Regions from separate parts of the Homo sapiens genome. Here regions 1 and 3 are each linked to region 2. The links are contacts of gene promoters, found by promoter capture Hi-C in human tissues and cell types (Jung and others, 2019). All regions are on one chromosome and are shown on one strand. Each heading gives the region's core, a stretch centred on a gene start or on the middle of the fragment in contact. The rest is flanking DNA. Distances are from core to core; before and after follow the strand shown.

Evidence for each region. The method cuts DNA at HindIII sites, captures the fragments that hold promoters and counts their contacts. A contact is called where the count stands out against the background at its distance.
Region 1: a fragment that was not itself captured here is called in contact with the fragment with the promoter of SLC5A11 in region 2 in 1 of the 25 tissues and cell types used here (IMR-90 fibroblasts).
Region 3: a fragment that was not itself captured here is called in contact with the fragment with the promoter of SLC5A11 in region 2 in 2 of the 25 tissues and cell types used here (bladder and neural progenitor cells).

What each region holds. Positions count from the first base shown.
Region 1 is chr16:24,884,913-24,887,612 of GRCh38, forward strand. All of the region lies in intron 9 of SLC5A11 (solute carrier family 5 member 11), which reads left to right. Among named protein-coding and RNA genes, the nearest start is that of SLC5A11, 40 kb to the left of the region's middle. The HindIII fragment of the contact is 9,966 bases long and covers 1-2,700 here.
Region 2 is chr16:24,844,565-24,847,264 of GRCh38, forward strand. SLC5A11 (solute carrier family 5 member 11) reads left to right here and starts at 1,399. Exons shown (of 17, transcript NM_001352248.3): 1 at 1,399-1,448; 2 at 1,668-1,874. The HindIII fragment of the contact is 12,271 bases long and covers 1-2,700 here.
Region 3 is chr16:24,804,038-24,806,737 of GRCh38, forward strand. It overlaps TNRC6A (trinucleotide repeat containing adaptor 6A), which reads left to right. Exons shown (of 25, transcript NM_014494.4): 12 at 140-282; 13 at 668-814; 14 at 977-1,114; 15 at 1,568-1,696; 16 at 2,169-2,246; 17 at 2,537-2,700. Among named protein-coding and RNA genes, the nearest start is that of SLC5A11, 41 kb to the right of the region's middle. The HindIII fragment of the contact is 5,372 bases long and covers 1-2,700 here.

The DNA.
Region 1 (2,700 bases), core at 125-2,624, 40 kb after region 2:
TTCATTTTTTTAAATAGATGGGGTTTCGTCATGTTGCCCAGGCTGGTTTCAAACACCTGGGCTCAAGCAATCACCTGCCTCGGCCTCCCAAAGTGCTGAAATTACAAGCGTGAGCCACTGCATCCAGCCCAGAAGCTTTAAACTCTAGCACTAGCCCACACCTAGACTTTAGCATTTCATTTCAAAATATTCGCCCAATTCTTCGTACCAGCTTGTGTGGTGATCCTGTCTTTGTTTTGCTGCCAACGGTCATGTCTCTTTGGAGGCTCCTGTGTTTTCTGAGATCTCAGGCCAGTTGGTTGCTCTATGGCCTCAGCTCTCTGATAGGTTCAGGGGAAGTTATTTTGTTGATTAGCCAACTTCTTATTATTGTTAAGCGGGGGACACTACTCTCCACAGGTTTCTATCTTTTAGAGGTAAGCCACTCATTAAGCCTTAAAGACTACAACAAAGGCCGAGTGTGGTGGCTCACACCTGTAATCCCAGCACTTTGGGAGGCCAAAGCAAGAGGATCGCTTGAGCTCAGGAGTTTGAGACCAGCCTGAGCAACATAGTGAGACTGTCTCTACAAAAAATAAACATAAACTTACCCAGGTTTGGTGGCATGTGCCTGTAGTCCCAGCTACCTGACAGGCTGAGGTGGGAGGATGGCTTGAGCCTGGCAGGTTGAGTCTGCGGTGAGCTGAGATTGTGCCACTGCACTCCGGCCTGGTCTCGCTTTGAGACAGAGTGAGACCCTGTCTCAAAAAAAAAAAAAAAAAAAAAAAAAGGCTATGAAAACTAATATAGAAAACACAGAAAAGCGAAAGGGATCAAAATCCTGAAAGATGGCAGAATATAGTGCTGAAAATTATATATTTTAGGACTCAGAAGAAAATATCAAGAGAGTGCCATGCTTGGAATCCTGAACTCTATGAAACATGTATGAAAGATAGAAGTAGAGGACAAACTGAGGTGAAGGGAGAATAGAAGCGGATAAAAAGGAAAAAGATTACAGAAGATTACAATACATTTTCTAAAATTTTCTAAAAAAATTAGCAGAATTAAACTCCCCACAGGTGGATGTAAAGAGCAGAACAAACGCTAAAGAAAATCAAACCCAGGATGAAAACAAATAGGAGTTCTTTTTTTTTTTTTTTTGAGATGAAGTCTCGCTCTGTCACCCAGGCTGGAGTGCAGTGGCATGATCTTGGCTCACTGCAACCTCCACCTCCCGGGTTCAAGCGATTCTCCTGCCTCAGCCTCCCAAGTAGCTGGGACTACGGACACACGCCACCATGCCCAGCTAATTTTTGTATTTTTAGTAGGGACGGGGTTTCACCATCTTCACCAGGATGGTCTCCATCTCTTGACCTCATCTTCTGCCCGCCTTGGCCTCCCAAAGTGCTGGGATTATAGGCATGAGCCACCACGCCCGGCTGAAAACAAACAGGAGTTCTAATAAAATGCAGAGAAAAGGGATAAATAATAAAATTATAAAAGAAAAGATGACAAATATAGAAGATAGAGAGCAGAGATATACCATTTGAGAAATGTTTATTCTTTTTCTTTCTTTCTGTTTTTGCTTTTTGAGAAATGTTTATTCTTAGAAAAAAGGTCAGAAAAAAATGGAACAAAGTAAATAATTAAAGTAATCACAAAAGAAAACTTTTCTTAGAAGGAGGATGATATATCTAGCTAGGTGTGAAGGGTTTGCTGTGTCTTAGGCAAAATCGATGAACAAGATCTCCAGGTAGAAGAAGCATTATGAAAAAAATGTGAAGTATAAGAATACTTTTTAAATACTAAAGAATACAGACAGAGAGGTGGGAAGATCATTTGAGGCCAGTAGCTTGAAACCAGCCTGGACAACAAAGCAAGACCCCACTCTATGAAAAATGGAAAATTAGCTGGATGTGGTGGTGCACACCTGTGGTCTCAGGTGGGGACTGGAGGATCAGGGAGGTTAAGGAGGTTGAGGCAGGAGGATCACTTGAGTCCAGGTGCTCGAGGCTGCAGTGAGCTATTATTGCACCACTGCACCCCAGCCTGGGTGACAGGGTGAGACTCTGTATATAAGAAAAAAAGAATCCAGACAGAAAAAATGTAGTGAGCTAAAAATAATAAACAAACTGGTCTCATTCCCCTCCTTCATAACAATAAAATGCCAAAAGACAGTGGAGCAAGGGCTACAGATGTGTTTTATGGGAAAAGTTGTATCCTAAGTAAGGATCAGATACCAGCCAAGTTCTCTGTTTGCCAGGGCTGCAGAAATATTCTGAACCATGCAAAGACTTAGTAAAGGGAGGACCTATGTGCCTGTCTTGAAGGTACAAGACAGAAACAAAACAAAATCGAGAGTTGGTATTATGACTAAAGAGAAAATGGTAGTAAATAATGATCCAGTTAAAATCATTACAGATCTGAAAAAATTGTGTGGTCAAGGCAAACGTTACATAAAGAATATAACAATTTAATAAAAATTGGATCTAAAGCCCCCTATTTTACTAACAAAAACTTTAAAATGTTGGGAGAGATAGTATGCTAGATTTCCCATCAAATAGGAAGAAAAACATCATGAAGAAGAAATACTGAACTCCAAGCAGACACTCATATAAATCTCACCCTTTATGTAGGAAATATGTGTGCATATAAGTTTTTTTTTCCTAAAAGAGAATAACAAGAAATCACAACCAAAGGGAAAGAATAAAAGAGAATGCA
Region 2 (2,700 bases), core at 149-2,648:
ATTCATACTGGTGTTGGTCAGTCACCCAGTGTTTGCTCACCCAGGCCACCCTTTATCCAGTCAAGCCACCCTCCACTGCTCCTGCAGGACTCTAGAGCCAGGTGGCCTGGGCTGAAATCTTGCTGTGTCACTTACAACCCGGGTGATCCTGGGCCGATGACTCATCTCCTCTACCTCTGTTACCTCGTCAGTAAGATAGAGATAACAGGACCTAACTTCGAGGGTTGTTGGAAAGACCAAGTGAGTAAAGGCATGTTGTGCCCTTAGAGCCTGGCACGTGTTCATCACTGCTATTATTTCTGGCTACTCGGTGCCAGGACAGGGGCCTCAGCTGAGGGCCCCCCAGAGCCTGGCAGGCCCAGTGAAGGAGTGAGATGGGGAGGCCACGACTCCTCCCCAGTCAGCAGCTGTCCTGTGGCCATGGGGGCCTGGTGAGGCCAGATCTTCAGGTTGTTCTAGAAAAGTGAGTATTCTAGAATTATGTTTCAAGCCTCTTGGTTTGCAAATACTAGTAACTATTTTTAAAATGTTTTGGTATTTGGCCTGGCACAGTGTTTGACCCCTGTAATCCCAGCACTTTGGGAGGCCAAGGTGGGAGGATCACTTAAACCCAGGAGTTGGAGACCAGCCTGGGCAACATAGCAAGATTCTCTCTCTACCAAAAAAATGAAAAAATTAGCTGGGTGTGGTGGTGCACGCCTGTAGTCCCAGCTACTCGGGAGGCTGTGGTGGGAGGATCACTTGAGCCCAGGAGGATGAGCCTGCAGCAAGCTGTGATGCCACCACTGCACTCCAGCCTGGGTGACAGAGTGAGATCCTGTCTCAGAAATAAAAAGTAAATAAAGTTTTGGATGCTTTGAGCATCTGGCAGAAATCTTCGCTATGCCCCGCTGATGTCCTGGGCCCGATGTGGGCGCCTGGCCATGGCTCGGTCACTCCTGACGGTTTTTCAGGGCCTCAGACACCTCTTCTTCTTCTTCTTCTTCTTTTTTTGAGACTGATTTTCGCTCTTGTTGCCCAGGCTGGAGTGCAATGGTGTAATCTCGGCTCACCACAACCTCCGCCTCCCGGATTCAAGTGATTCTCCTGCCTCAGCCTCCCGAGTAGCTGGGACCACAGGCATGCACCACCATACCCGGCTAACTTTGTATTTTTAGTAGAGATGGGGTTTCTCCATGTTGGTCAGGCTGGTCTCGAACTCTCGACTTCAGGCAGACACCTGTTCTTTGCCATGCCTCTGTCTGAAGAGTATATGGAAAGGGGTTGCACAAGCAATGGTTGCTGTTCCTGTTGCTGCCACTGCGGTGAGGGCTGTGGCTGGACGTCCCTCCTGGCACTTTGCCTCTGTCCCCTCCATCCGCCGCCAGCATTTTTCCTCCCCTCCCCTTCCTCCAGCTCGTCCCAAGCCTGCCTGTCCCCAGCGTGGAGGCGGGACAGTGGAAGACTGGGTGAGTGAAGCAGGATGGTGCCTTGGGCTCCAGCGTCTCCCCAACCCCTCCATGCCATGGGTCCCCACGCAGGTGAGGACCCTGGTGGAGGACGGTGTGGGCAGAGCGTGGGACATGTCACCTTCCCCACCTGCTCAGAGTTCAAGGGTCCTGGGCTGGGCCCCGTTCTCTCTTCTGCCCTGGGGAGATCATTCACGCTTCCTTTAATCCCCGCTGCAGCTGAGGCTGGAGTTTGGAGTTTGACCCGCTTGGAGGCTCTCTCAGCAGCGGGCATATAGGAGGAAGGGTCACTGCTGTCTCCGGAAGCTCTTGGCTGCAAAGAGAGAGGATCCCGGGTATCTCCCTCCTTACAACCACCGCCACCTCCTAGTGCCTTAGAAGCCACTGACAGCCCCCAGGGCAGGTGAGCCCTGCATCTGGAATAAGGTAAGACACCCCCTGCCCCCAAACAGGTAGCCACTCTCCAAACTGGGAAGTTGGTCTGGGGACAGGTGCTGGCAGAAGGACTCCAGCTGTCACCTGTGGGGCAGGGGAAGCTCAGCCCTCTCTGCAGAGAAAGCTTGTCATACACCAGGACAATGGAGTGTGTTTGTGGGGTGGGCATGGTGGTATGAAGCCAGCAGCCGGCAGCCAGCAGCACCGTACGTGGGTCCCAGCTCTTCCACTTAACCAAGGTCAGGGACATTGAGCCAAACATTTTGCCTCACCGAGTCTCAGGTTCCTTATCTGTCAAATGGGAATATGAACCTCAGGCTGACCCACCCCACAGGTGTGTTACCCAGAGATAACGAAGGTAAATGTATCCACATAAGCATTAAAAAGCTATAGGAATGTATTTACTACAACTGCAGCTGCTGTTAACTACAAGGCAAATACAAGTCTTCACTGGTACGTGTCAGACACGTGCAGAGAACTTTACGCCTGGATCTCATCTAACTGACACAGAAACCCTGTAAGGTAGGTACAGCACCCCCTAATTCATGGACAGAGTCTAAGGGTCATTAAATAACTTGCTCAAGGTAATACAGATAGTGAGTGGCCAAGCCAAGACTCAATTCCTGTGGCCATGAGCTCAGCCACAATATCAGTGATTTTCTTTTTCTTTCCTTTCTTTCTTTTTCTCTTTCTTTCTTTTTCTTTCTTTTCCTTTCTTTTCTTTGTTCTTTCTTTCTTTCCTTCTTTCTTTTATTTCTTTCCTTATTCCTTTCTTTCCCTTTCTTTCTCCTTCCTTCTTTCCTTCCTTCCCTCCCTC
Region 3 (2,700 bases), core at 55-2,554, 41 kb before region 2:
GGAAGTGTATTTTTCACATACCCTTGTCTTGGCTGAAGTCATTTCAGTTTGGAAAGTGAGTGTTTTGCTTTTGTTGTAAATTTATCTGAAACCAATTGGGTTGTCTTCCTGTTTGATAACAGTCTCCTGCCTTTATTAGGAATGTTACAAGACAAACGAATGGAGATAGATAAACATAGCCTAAATATTGGTGATTACAATCGAACGGTCGGGAAAGGCCCTGGTTCTCGGCCTCAGATTTCCAAAGAGTCTTCCATGGAGCGCAATCCTTATTTTGATAAGGTAAGGTTTTTTACTTTTACCTCTGACTTGATAAACCAGTATACTTCATAGCGTAATTTTCACACTAATATTTTAAAACCTTTTATATAATATAAAGTGTTACAATCCACTACCAAATCTTATTACTGGATTTTGAAGTTCACTGTCTTTTTATGTCTCAATTTATCATAGAGGTTGCATTTATATTTTTCTTCTTAATCCCATGAAATATGTTTGGCTCTTTTTGTGTGCTCTAGAATTAACACTAATCCGATCTCTTCTGTTTTCTACCTGTTTCCTGTTGATGCTGGAATGTCATGTGACTTCTCTTCTGTTCCTGCAATGATTTCTCCCTTCCACTTGTTTGCTTGGCTGGTGTTGCACATCTTTCTGTCTGTCCAATCAGGATGGCATTGTAGCAGATGAATCCCAAAACATGCAGTTTATGTCCAGTCAAAGCATGAAGCTTCCCCCTTCAAATAGTGCACTACCTAACCAGGCCCTTGGCTCCATAGCAGGGCTGGGTATGCAAAACTTGAATTCTGTTAGACAGGTAAGTCCAGATGTGTATTTTAGGCTCTCAGTTGAATGATTTGTATTAGTAATAAGATCTCTCTTACATGTAGTTACTGTGTTTAAATCATAGTACAGTGTGGTAATGAGATGTTTGTCCCTAAAGAATCCCACTGTTACTTGTTGCTGTTTGTTTTTATAGAATGGCAATCCCAGTATGTTTGGTGTTGGAAACACAGCAGCACAACCCCGGGGCATGCAGCAGCCTCCAGCACAACCTCTTAGTTCATCTCAGCCTAATCTCCGTGCTCAAGTGCCTCCTCCATTACTCTCCCCTCAGGTAAATAAGCTTTCCTTACATTCTCCTGTTTACCTGCAAAAAGGATCTTGCATGATTTTGTATTTGAATAAAATGGCTAACTAAGCATTATCATATTTATTGGCATCTTTGAGATTCAGCTAGTTTTGAATTAACTATTAAAAAAGGTTGTAGTAAGGAAAAGTCAAGGATAATTTAAATCCAAAATTTACCATTTTCTTCTTTAAAACATTCTTGAGAGTAGGACAAAAGCAAAGTAAAATTGACTAGTTTAAGATGCACCTCTGTCATCTTTTACTTAACCCACGAAAAAGTGTAAGTGAGTGGTCAGTTAGTAAGACAGAGACAAAGACTATAACCCCCAATGAATAGTCCACAAATTTAACTGCTCTATTGACAACTGAAAACACACAGTACGTGTAGTTAGTGTGAGTTATTTTATCAAGATCATTAACTTACCATTGTGATCCTAAGGTTCCAGTTTCATTGCTGAAGTATGCACCAAACAACGGTGGCCTGAATCCACTCTTTGGCCCTCAACAGGTAGCCATGCTGAACCAGCTATCCCAGCTAAACCAGCTTTCTCAGATCTCCCAGTTACAGGTAAGCAGAGTCATAGTCTTTCTTAGTACACATTTATGGAGCATCTACTGTATGCCAAACACTAGACTCTGTGCGGGACATAGTGCACTAAACAAAACAGGCGTAGTCATAGTCCTCATGGAGCTTACAGTCTATCGGGGGAGACAGATCGTGAACATTTGTGAAGAATGTCTTGAAGAAGTGCAGAATGCTGTGAGAGGAAACCTCAGCCAAGTCCAGGGTGCTAGTGTTAGTAGGATGATTAGGAAAAGTTTCTCTGTTGAAGTGAAAGTTTAGATTGAACTAAAGACTGAATTTCAGCAGTGACTAGAAACCAGAGAGTCCAAGGAAGAGATGGTACTAGATAATGCTAGACATGTTGGCATTGGCTAGATCACGTCGTGCCTCTGTAGGTCCATCTGCTGTCGTCATTTGGAAGCACACACTTTGTAATGGTGTGATAGTAACAACCTTTTCGCTATCTTTCCTCTAGCGATTGTTAGCGCAGCAGCAAAGGGCGCAGAGTCAGAGAAGCGTGCCTTCTGGGAACCGGCCGCAGCAAGACCAGCAGGTAGAGCCCGCCCTGCAACTCGCAATGCTGTCTTTGTGTTAATAAACTCTGCTTATCTCCATTGTAGCAAGAGATTCAGAAATGTCTTTCTTAAAACAATCTTACTAAGATGTAATGCAGTATGTTTTTCATTAAGTCTGCTGGTTGCCCATGAGTTATGTGAACATTATACAGTGATTATTCACCTTTCTGCTGAGACGAAAGTGAATTCAAAAATGGAGAGGAATATGTAGTTTTCTGTAAAGACGTTTTCCCCCAGTAATTTTTTCCAATCATTTCATTGTTTTAAGGGTCGACCTCTTAGTGTGCAGCAGCAAATGATGCAACAATCTCGTCAACTTGATCCAAACCTGTTGGTGAAGCAGCAGACTCCACCATCTCAGCAGCAGCCACTCCATCAGCCAGCCATGAAGTCTTTCCTTGACAATGTCATGCCCCACACTACACCTGAGCT